Linked DNA regions of Homo sapiens: regions 2, 3 and 4 are each linked to region 1. The links are contacts of gene promoters, found by promoter capture Hi-C in blood cells and fetal thymus (Javierre and others, 2016). All regions are on one chromosome and are shown on one strand. Each heading gives the region's core, a stretch centred on a gene start or on the middle of the fragment in contact. The rest is flanking DNA. Distances are from core to core; before and after follow the strand shown. Region 1 holds the start of CATSPER3 (cation channel sperm associated 3). Region 2 overlaps PITX1-AS1 (PITX1 antisense RNA 1). Region 3 overlaps PITX1-AS1 (PITX1 antisense RNA 1). Region 4 overlaps PITX1-AS1 (PITX1 antisense RNA 1).

What was found. The method cuts DNA at HindIII sites, captures the fragments that hold promoters and counts their contacts. A CHiCAGO score of 5 or more calls a contact.
Region 2: a contact is called between a fragment that was not itself captured here and the fragment with the promoter of CATSPER3 in region 1, in 1 of 17 cell types (naive B cells). The highest score is 6.6, in naive B cells.
Region 3: a contact is called between a fragment that was not itself captured here and the fragment with the promoter of CATSPER3 in region 1, in 4 of 17 cell types (M2 macrophages, M1 macrophages, naive B cells and 1 more). The highest score is 8.2, in M2 macrophages.
Region 4: a contact is called between a fragment that was not itself captured here and the fragment with the promoter of CATSPER3 in region 1, in 4 of 17 cell types (M2 macrophages, M1 macrophages, M0 macrophages and 1 more). The highest score is 8.3, in M2 macrophages.

What each region holds. Positions count from the first base shown.
Region 1 is chr5:134,966,480-134,969,254 of GRCh38, forward strand. CATSPER3 (cation channel sperm associated 3) reads left to right here and starts at 1,428. Exons shown (of 8, transcript NM_178019.3): 1 at 1,428-1,610. The coding sequence starts at 1,513. The HindIII fragment of the contact is 4,293 bases long and covers 1-2,668 here.
Region 2 is chr5:135,217,885-135,220,659 of GRCh38, forward strand. All of the region lies in intron 3 of PITX1-AS1 (PITX1 antisense RNA 1), which reads left to right. Among named protein-coding and RNA genes, the nearest start is that of LINC02900, 29 kb to the right of the region's middle. The HindIII fragment of the contact is 560 bases long and covers 1,117-1,676 here.
Region 3 is chr5:135,201,712-135,204,486 of GRCh38, forward strand. The region is part of intron 3 of PITX1-AS1 (PITX1 antisense RNA 1); the gene reads left to right. Among named protein-coding and RNA genes, the nearest start is that of LINC02900, 45 kb to the right of the region's middle. The HindIII fragment of the contact is 4,619 bases long and covers 1-2,775 here.
Region 4 is chr5:135,178,413-135,181,187 of GRCh38, forward strand. The region is part of intron 3 of PITX1-AS1 (PITX1 antisense RNA 1); the gene reads left to right. Among named protein-coding and RNA genes, the nearest start is that of LINC02900, 68 kb to the right of the region's middle. The HindIII fragment of the contact is 7,736 bases long and covers 1-2,775 here.

The DNA of each region.
Region 1 (2,775 bases), core at 178-2,677:
CCTGATTTGCCCTGAAAGCCAAAGGAGTTAGGAGAAGGTGAGTGGGGAGAATATATTAATCCTGAGAGTTGAACAGAGCAAAAATCCCTATTACTTTTGTACTTAAAACATCTCTGCCACATGTGCTCACTCTTTATATTCTGTTTAGGTGGTTTATATGTGCACATCCCATCCTATGCCTGCAGTTAGCCAACTCAGGGTTTATATTGCCTCCTTTCTTTTTTTCTTTTTTTTTTTTTTTTTAAGAGATGGGGTCTCATTCTATCATGCAGACTGGAGTGCAGTGGTGTGATCACAGCTCATTGTAACCTCCAACGCCTGGACTAAAGTGATCCTCCTACCTTGGCCTCTCTGGTAGCTGGGACTACAGGTGCATGCCACCACACCCACCTAATTTTTTTTATTTTTATTTTTTGTAGAGACAGTCTCACTATCTTGCTCAGGCTAGTCCTGAACTCCTGGGCTCAAGTTATCTTGCTGCCTCAGCCTCCCATGGGTAATTTTTATTTCCTTTTTTTTTTTTTTTGGAGATGGAGTTTCGCTCTTGTCGCCCAGGCTGGAGTGCAATGGCACGATCTTGGCTCACTGCAGTCTCCACCTCCTGGGTTCAAGTGATTCTCCATCCTCAGCCTCCTGAGTAGCTGAGATTACAGGCAACTGCCACCATGCGCGGCTAATTTATGTATTTTTTTTTAGTAAGAGATGGGGTTTCACCATGTTGGCCAGACTAGTCTTAAACTCCTGACCTCAAGCGACCTGCCTGCCTTGGCCTCCCAAAGTGCTGGGATTACAGGCATGAGCCGCTATGCCTCGTCGCTGATTTTTATTTCTTATTTTTTTTTTAGAGATGGGGGTCTCACTATGTTGCTCAGGCTGATCTCAAACTCCTGGCCTCAAGTGATCCTCCCACCTTAGCCTCCCAAGTTGCTGGGATTATAAGTGTGAGCCACTATCCCTACCTCACTATTACCTTCTTTGCTTCTCTTGTTTTCTTTTGTTCTAAGTCAAACCCATCACAATCTTTTCTTGTCCTTCCAGGTGTTTTCCAGTGCTGTGCCCTGGATGTGCTCTCTTTCTCTTAGAGCCCAGAGAACTTGCTTTTCCCCCTTATATATGACCCTTAACTTTTTCTAACACATTATTAAGGGCCTGTGTCTATCAGCTGGGGGCACTTCTTGAAGGGAGGGCCTTTGTGTGGTCTGTTTCTAGTGACTTCCAGCTTTAACCCAGAGCCTCATGATTGCTGGGTGCCCATAGCCTTTTTGCTGAATGGAGGCACTCAGTCTCCTTGGGAAGAGAGAATCCATGATAGACCCACTTGGGAGCTCCCCACTTCAGGGGCCTACACACTGGTAATGCAACAGAATGCCCAAGAGTGACCTCATAAAGCAAGGATTCCCTTCGTGGCCCCTTCTCTGCTGCCTCTCAGAATCCAGACGCTAAGGAAAATCCCTAAGCAGAGATTTTCTGTTGGATGCTAAAAGCAAGGAATAAAAGTTGAAAATTTGGAAAATGTCTCAACACCGTCACCAGCGCCACTCGAGAGTCATTTCTAGTTCACCAGTTGACACTACATCGGTGGGATTTTGCCCAACATTCAAGAAATTTAAGTAAATATTATCTATCTCCATTGCCTGTTAAGAAATGTGCTAGTAGAAGTGTGAGGGCAGGGTGTCAGTGTTCTCTCAGCCTCTTCCCTCAGATACTCGTCTGCTTACCAAAATAAGTTGCATGTCCTTGACAATCTGGTTTCTATGATTGGTGAGGCTGGCATGCTATTACCTTTATGTGCCCTGTAGACTTGAATGACCAGTTTGACCAGTTTGACTGTTAGATAATCTGAAGGCTTTTCTCTTTTTTTATAATAGACCCCATCTCAAATCAGATAATGAAAATTACATATCTTGATATATTAGAAAAGTATATACATTCTGGCTGGGCACGGTGGCTCACACCTGTAATCCCTGCACTTTGAGAGGCTGGGGCGGATCACTTGAGGTCAGGAGTTTGAGACCAGCCTGGCCAACGTGGCGAAACCCCATCTCTACTAAAAATACACAGATTAGCCCGGAGTGATGGTGTGCACCTGTTGTCCCAGCTACTCAGGATGCTGAGGCAGGAGAATCCCTTTAACCTGGGGGGCGAAGGTTGCAGTGAGCCAAGATTGCACCACTGCACTCCAGCCTGGGTGACAGAACGAGACTCTGTCTCAGAAAAAAAAAAAAAGAAAAGGAAAAAGAAAAATATATATTCTATATTTTTTTAACTTATGAGAATGTGTTCATTTCATTTGTAACATATAATGGGAAACAGTAATACGTACTCTGAGAAAAATTGCAAAGCACAGATAAATGGAAATAAACAGGAAAAAGAATCACCTATAACCTCACCATCCATAGACAGACACTGTTAAAATTTTGGCATATTTCCTGCTGATTTTTTCTACTGCTGATTTTTGCACAGGTGAGATAATTTTGAACAGAGAATTTTGTATCTTTGGTTTTTGTGTTTTGCTGCACACAAAAACAAAAGATATAAAAATGGATCATAAACATTTTTCTAAATCCTGAAAAATGCATAGACATATTTTAGTGCCTGTATTTCACAAGATGGACATACCATAATTTACTTACACAGTCCTTTTTGTTAGATGTTTAAGTTGTTTTCAAGCTTCTCAGTGCTGGAAAAAATACTGAGATAGACATGTTTAGTTGAAGTTATTTCATTTCAGGTTATATTATCTTGGGTCAGAGAATGAATGGTTCTCAGGCTTTT
Region 2 (2,775 bases), core at 147-2,646, 250 kb after region 1:
CACTAAGTGACTCGCCTGCCATTGAGGAGTGAGCACCTCTCTGGATGCTGTTGGGGGAGGCAAGAGGTGTTGCCCATCTCAAGTGATGGGCAAGTTTGGGACACATGAGAGGGGCCCAACTCAGGGCCAATGTGGGCCCGTTCCTATGTGTGTTTCAGGGGCATCACCTTTCCTCCTGCCCACCTCAAAGGTGGCTTTTGACTTTGTCCTCTAACTGAGGTAGCTGGGTTTGTGTCTTTTGACCTCCTGCCTCCTCTTCTAGGGTAAACAAGGCAGACCCCAACAAGAATCTTGCCAGTCCCTGCAGGAGCAGATTAGTGGCCATATCCCTTTCTGGGGTCGGGAACCTGAACCTCTTTCCTGGAACAGGTATTTGGGGCTGGGTGCCCTAGGAAGTGCTGTCTTTTTGAAGTAAGCTGGTTTCTCATATTTCGAGGTGCTCTTCCTCCCAGAGTACCCTAGGCAGAGGGTTATTTGGGTGTTGGGGGGGATGAGTTATGGGGCAAACGCGCTGCTTTGTGAGCATTAGGAAGTGCAGGTGAATGGGCTGGAGCTCTCCTGTCCTCCTTCCTGTGTTGGATAGCCTCTGCTGCGAGGGGTGGCTGGGGGTTGAGTGGGGAAGGATGGGGCCTGAGGAGCTGGGAGGGCAGGGCGATGTGCTGGGCTTGGGCTTCTGAGGGCAGCAGGCCCACCTGAAGCCCCCAGCTGTGTACAGTGGGGCTGGGCTTGGAGGCAGGGGCCTGCCTCCCAGTTCAGGACTCAATGGCTCGAGTTCCCACGAGAGAGGCAAAGGTCTTCTTTTGGTCTCTGTCCCTCTCTCATCCCATTCTCTATTTTATTTACATTTTGCTTAGGACATTTCATGAAGACATTATACAGCCAAATTCCCAATGTGACCTCCAAACATCAAACATATGTATTCCCCAGCCCCTCCCCAGGTGTTTCCCTGGCGGCCACAGGCCCCTGTTTGTGAATTCTGGGCATCTCCAATAGGCACTTTCCTCTGACCTGGTTACGCTGTTTAACAAATTCATTTGGGGGTGAGCTCAGAGATGAGGATTGGAGAGGAGAAAGAATTGTCTTTTCTTCTTAACTGTCCCCAGGACGCCCTGAGCAAGCTTGGAGGATTCTCACTAATCTAATCCCTGTCAGAAAAGGAACGATAAAACAATTCAGGCTTTAGAAGCCAAATCCCCTTCCTGCACTCATACTATTTCTATATCTCTGCCTTACCGTTTTTCTCCTTTGCAATGAAACTGAGCTTCGGTTTCTCAGTGAGGGTTTCAGTGGATAAGGATTTCATATTTCACTCTTCCATTTTTCGTATTTAAATTTGCTTTACTCTCCAGTTTGACTTTCCACTGACCCTTGAAGAATTGGCGTATTTCAAGGAGGGGGAAAAGATCTCATTATAGGAAATGAGAAAAATGGAGCAGAGTTTTAAAACTTTTAATGACTAAAACACAGTGTTCCCAGTCGGTATTGTATTGGGGTTGAAGTCACTGTTTGGTTACAAGTCTTTTAGGTCTAAACGGGGTTGATGACATCTGTTTAATTTTAGATGTCTGGAATACATTCGGAAAATAATGAAATCCAAATGTATGACCAAATTAGAGAACAATTTTATCTGCGACAAAGAAGTTTTTAAAATAAGAACAACTATTTCGACCAAACAAAGCTTTAAAAGACCCATCAAATCTTTGGTCATCTCGCCTTGTCTTTTCCCAGTGGGTCTCCATGGTTGAGAGAACATTGATTTTCTCGGTGTGTGCCTCAGACATTATTATGTAATTTTATACCCATTTTCCCGTCGTTTCTCTGGGCATGCGTTCTGCTCTGTGCCATCAGCCCTGGAGAGACCACGTTCAGGGAACTGAGGACGCTTTATGGGAAAGCTCCTTTGATAAAGCAAAGGTCTCCTGTCACAACACTCGAGGGCCACCTATCACCTGTTTCATAGTGACCCAAGCAACTGTGGGAAAAGTCCTGGGAAGATAAAAAAAAAAAAAAGTGCCAAGGCCTTGCCAATGGGGCATGGCGCTACCAATGGACATCAGGAGAAAGCAGTATTCCCAACTCTTATCGTGCCTGTGTGACCTGGCAGTGGGCCAGTGTGACCCTGTGTGACCCTCTATGCCTGTGTGACCCTCTATGGGCCTCGCTTGCCCAATCTGTATGAAGAGCTCAGGCACTCAGGGATCCTGAGAGGCTGGCAGGGGTTGGCCTCTCTCCAGGAAGATTCTGATGTGGTGCTGAGGCACTGCTACTGGGATGTGCATTAAGCAGTTCCTCCCATACTCCCTGGAAGCCCAGCATCTGGGATGATGTGGAGACTCTGGTCACATGGGTCTCCTTTATTGTCCCTACCCCAGGAAGTGCAACAAGGGTAGTGTCAGCAGACAGACATTCTCAGAGTCCACTCCACTCCAGACCAGGTCCAGTGTTCAGCCATATCCTTCATCCTTGGTGGGACTTTCATGTACAGATAGAAAGTGAATTATGGGCAAGGCCTTGCCTGATGCCTTAAAACACTTGGCTACTAGGCAAGGTAATTCCATCCCTCCAGGGTATTTGAGCCTTCCAAATGTTTGCAGACTCTTATCCTGCCCTGTCCCATCCCTCCAGTATTGGCTGAAGCCTTTCCCCGAGAACCAGCCCCTTCTGTGTTGAGGTGCCCCACCCCCATTCAGTGCTGTTTGGTCAGGCTCAGTCGTCCCAGAGTCAGCTTCCTGAACCACTGTCCCATGGAGAATGTCTGCACATTTCACTCGAGAC
Region 3 (2,775 bases), core at 70-2,569, 240 kb after region 1:
CAAGTGTACAGTGGAGTTTTCTGGAGGCTATGTAATGTGTGCTATCATAATAGATTGACTACAGAAACATGAAAATCCAGCCGTTTTCTATTAAGCTCAACAATAAAGAAATATTTAAAAATGTAAAATGTTGTCATTCTTCTCACTGAAAGTTTTTGTTTATGGTTATTTTTCAAAAATATGCATTTATATTCTTACTTTAAAATTAATATTTAACATTTTCTCAGCTTTAGTTTCTAATCTGTAAATATCAATAGATATAACCCACATAAACAAAAGCTCTTTGAGGTCCTTGATTTTTAAGAGTGTAAAGGAATTTTGAGAATAAATGTTTTGAGAACTTGTGAGTTTTATCATTTATTCTTTAGGATTTCTTGATAAATTACTGTGTCCTCTGCAATAGAGTTAGTTTTTTGTCTTCTTTTCTAATCCTCAAGCCTCCTTTTGTTTTCTCTTGTCTATGTTAGCTAATACTTCCAGCACAATGTTAATAGCGGAAAAGTGCCTTGTTCTTTCCTTTTGTGGGAATACCTCTAGTGTTTCCATATTAAGTAGGATGCTGAGGTGCTGATTGTATTGTTTTATTTACTGAGTTTCTTTCTCTATTTGATGTATTTTCATTGTTGTCTAAAAATTCTTTTGGCATTTAGAAAGGCTTATGTTTTTGATCTAGTGGTTGCCATCATATTTATACCTTTTATAGTGCCCTTAATTCTCCCCTTTCTTAAACTTTTACTATCTAGTCTGTCAGTTTTACATGATATCCTTTGACTCTCACCTGTTACCTAAACGACAATCAATGGTCATATTTTGCTTTCTCCTTTGGTACTATTTTAAGATTACATTCTTTCTACTTTGTCAGAACATGTCATATTTACAGAATCTTCTGATACCATGACCCCACCCTAGTTTTAATCTTAGCTCTGTAATTAAATGTATTAAATGATTATCGGTTCTTTTGCAGAAGCTCCCCCAGTTATCACTTGGTTGGATGAAGGATGGATATAAAATCCCTACTCACTATAAAATCCCTACTCACTGCCAGGAAGTACCTTCCTGGCAGCCAGTACTGTGAACTAAGTTTCAGACTCATGTTCATTATTTTGCATTTAGTGCTATACTTTTTACCTCTCTGGGGTGATTCAGAGTTTCTTGAAAATGCTGTTCCACTCTTACCCAATTCCGTGTGTTGTTCTTAGAAAGCCTGAGGTCAGCCTACATTTTTTATCAGAATAAAATTTGACCTTTTTGCCTGAAAGTCATGAAGATTTTTTATTTGTCATAAAAATCTAGTAGTTTTACTAGGATATGTTTCAGAGTTGTTCATTCTAGATCATTTCTCCAAGCCACACAGTGGACCTTTTCATTATGTTGATTTAGGATTTATCTTATTTCTGGAAAGTTTTCTTGGGTTATATTTCAAAATATTTCTATTTTATTGTTTTATTTTTCTTCTTCATGGACTCCAATTATACATAGGTTAGCTCATCTTTGCCTGCCTTCCATTTCAACCACTTTCGCTGATTTTTTTTAACCTCGTTCTCAATTCATTTTCATTTGGTTTTTGTTTTACTACCTTTGTAAATGCTCCCTATTAAATTTTCATTTGAACTTATTCTCTCTTGGGCACATTGTAATTTGTTCTTCATTTCTGAAATAGTTTTGGTCTTTTTCTTAAATTTATTTCCTGAAATTGATCAACTCCCATTGCATTTCTTCCTGATTTTAAAAGGTTCTCTTCTAAGTTTTAAATCTCTGATTCTAGTTTTTTTAAACAATATTCAAATACTTATTTTATAATATTTAACTCAGTTTGGAATGTTACATGACAGTTTACTTCTGCTTCATGGTTGATTTTCTTTGTGGGGGAGAATTTTAATTAGTTGAAATGTTTTGGTGCATATTTTATCTTTAAAAAAAAAAATCAGCTCCACTGATTAGCCGAGGAATACTAATAACAATGTGGAGTTAGTACGAGTTTTCCCTTTATTCCTAGGCATTTTGTGGTGAGTGCCTATTTCAAGAGTGCCCTCTTCTGTCAATATGATGAAGTGCAGTTTATTGAATGAATAGAGGGAGTAGGAGGGCTTGTCTTGTTTTCTGTCTTTTTTTTCCCCTGCAGTATGCTTAATTTCTTCTTTTTCTTTACTGCCATATCTCTAAGAGACACCTATTTTCTATTTATTTTCTTCTCTTCCCAAAAGCAGTGCTTCTCTGACATTGTCACTTCTGACCCTACTCACTTTCAAGTACCTTCCTGACGGCCATTACTGTAAACTACGAAGTTCCAGACTTATGTTCATTATTTTGCATTTAGTGCTGTACTGTACCTCTCTGGGGTGATTCTGTTTGTCTTGTTTGTTCTCTCTCCTCCTTTTGTTTCCATGGAATTTCTTAAGACTCCCGTTTCCTGCCTTCTACACCTACAGATTTCCAGTAATGGTAGGTGCTTTGTTAGAATTTGGTACTTCTCTACTGAAATGTAATTTGGAATTCATAGTATTATGTGACTCCTAGTAATGACAAAGACATGAGTCATACATAGATTTTATTTTTGCTTGTTGTTTTTTCCCCTTTGTTGATGTTAATTTTTTTTTTTAAGCTGTTTGAAGTGGTTTGGATTTAGGAAGCCACCATTACCTTTCAGACTTATTGCTCTTTAAACAGTGAAAACATTGGTTTTCAAAGGAATCTTTGTCATTTCAACAAATGCTTTAAAAATTACTTGGATTAATATAGTTGGTGTTGGTAAGACCACCGAATGTGTTGATCATG
Region 4 (2,775 bases), core at 205-2,704, 210 kb after region 1:
CACACTCAGGCAGCCAGAAGTAATTAGAAAGCTGACCCTTTATTGTCTTCTGAAAGAAGGCTGAAGGTTGGGCATCCCTGTCCTGTGCCCCAGCAGCACTCTTGAGCCCTGGCCAGTGCAGGTCTTGGCCACCCACGGCCCTTAGGGTCTCTCCCCACATCCAGCTTTTCCTTTTCTCTTCTCCTGCCCCCTTTCCAGGACTTGATTATGTGGGTGGACCCTGTCTCTCAACTCAGCCCTTCTGCAGCTCCATCCTCCCCTGTCCTGCCTACCAGGCTCTTGAGTGCATCACGGAGGCAGGGATGGGCTGGCATCGAGTTCTCGTTAGAGTGGGTGCGGGGAGGGAAGGATACTTGCACATGGGTGGATGAGTTCTGTTTTAGATGCGCAAGGCCCCAGCCCATCACGAATGCTTGCTGGGAATTCAGTAAGCATTTATGAGCTACCTACTATATGTCAGGCACCGTGCTAGGTTTCAATTCCCCAGAAACTCTGTGAGGCAGGTGGTGGTAGCTTCATTTTACAAATAAGAAAATTAAAGCTCAGAGCGCACACGTTGACTGAGGTTGCACAACTGGTTCGAACATTTGTCACCCCCCATGCATGGTTACTGTCAGCTAGGTGCCGGGCTGTGTCGGGGAGCTCTCTGGGGAGAGAGAGCCCTTTGGAGTCCTGGGTCTGCCCCGGGTCTGGCAGGAAGACCATTTGGATGATGAGAGAACAGACTGGAGGCAGGTGACAGGCAGATCCTAAATGTACAGGATTAAATATTTACATTAGGTAAAGATGAGGGTTAAGTGCCTCAGAGGCAGGCAAAGGGAGAGTGGAGGGAACTGCTGCTGGGGCTTACCTGAAGAGCTTATAGAGAAGGCTGCAGGAGAGGGGACATCTCTGGAGGCTCAGAGGAGCCAGGAGGGGGCTGGGGTGGATGCCGGAGTCAGGCTGGTCTCCTGTGAGGTGTGTGCAAGTGTGTGGTGGCCCGGGAATGTGGGAGCCACATACTTTTGTATAATTAGCTCGGCTCCTCTGCAGTGGTGGCAATTAGCCGTAGGCGGGAGACAGGACTTCCTGTGGCCAAGGCCACTTCTGCACCTGGGGCCGCTTACCTGGGCTCCTGCTGTCCAGGCTTGGGCCCTGCGTGTTTCCGGCAGGGGCAGCCAAGAAGCAGGTGGGGCTGTTGGGACTGCAGGGTCACAGCTTCTACCTCGCAGCAGGAGGAGGGAATTGTCCCAGCCCATCCTGCCGCTCAGCCCTGTTTATATCTTCTCTGGGGCCCTGCTTTTGAGAAGGGCTTTTGCTCCCTCTCCTCACCTGTTGGGGGCTGTTTCTGAGCCTTTCTCACTCTTCCTGGCTGTGGGTAGGACTGGCAGCAACCTAGAGGGGATTAGTTCCCCTGGTGGTCAGTAGACGCCTTATACACCTCTTCCCATGGACAGCTCAATGGCAGGAATATTCTGAGCATTTGGCTTTTGAGGAGCCCCACCTATCCTGCCATAATGAAAAATGTCAAAAATGAGATAATTAATGCTGCCACTTTGTTTCTCTTTAGTGTCCAGGGAATATTACTTTATTCATCTAATGTTATCAGCAATAATAACAATCACTGTCTTTGTGTTTTCTTTTTTTTAACTGGCCCTGCCTGTTTCTCTTCTAAATTGTGAGATAGTAGATGTGAAAACTTGGAAGCGGGAGTGTAATTATTCCCACTTTGTAGGCAGGAAAAACCACAGGTAGGAGAAGTGAGTTGCTTGCTTAGCGTCACCTGGGGAAGGTGACTGTGGCCTAGGGCCACTGATGTGCCAAGTGCTACCATGCTCAGGCTTTTGCAGCTTAGCTGGGGTGAAGCTGAGGCTGGGAACTGGGCTCTCCCTCCACACCAAGGTGGGTGAGAGCAAGTTGCTGGTAGCTAAGTCACAAGGAGGGATGTCAGTATGGCACCTGCTGCGGTCAGCAGAGGGGCAGCTCAGCCCTGCGGTTGGCTGGGACTCAGTGGTACTAGGCTTGTGGCACATCCTGGGGATGAGCTGGCTGCCTGCTCTCTTAGCCACTGTCAAGCAGGCTGAGTCCCTGGTTCCTTCATCCTCCACTGTGCACTCCAGAGCTGGAAAATGTTCTAAAAATCCTTGAAGCAATGGCTTTTCCCAGCCAGGCACAGCCTGCCACATGAGAAACCCAAAACCCGGGACAGGTGAGTGTGCTGAACACTTGCTGTGAACAGCAGGCATGAGGCCTAAAACCCCCCAGGTTTCACAGGTACGGGAGGATTCGATGAGATCTGTGTGATCAATATGAAGCGTTTGGTATGTGCCTGGCTCACAGTGAGTGTTCACTTGGTGTTAGCAGCCATTATTATTATGTTAGACATGATTATTAACCCATTTATGCCTGAGGTTGCAATTTTTTGAATTTTTGCAATCAGAACTTGGTGGTGACCTTGAGCAGTAGGATATAAATAACTCCCACATGCTCAGTGTTCCAATAATGGAACACTAGGCATAAATGGACTAAAGAAAAAGACAGTGTTCTGTGAGGTAACAGGGGCCTGGCCCAGGAAGAGAGTGCTCCACGAATAGTAGTTGTCATTAGCTATTGGCACTTTGTCTCCTGCATCCCCATCTTCCCAAGGACCGAAACTCCGGTCGATTCTCATTACTTGCACTAGTTATGTTCTATAAAGTCCCCACCAACACCGAATTAGCAAATACTAAACCACTGCTCCTAGGGACAATACAAAGTTAGGTTCCTGTGAGCTTCTGGTCACATTTTTGTCAACTG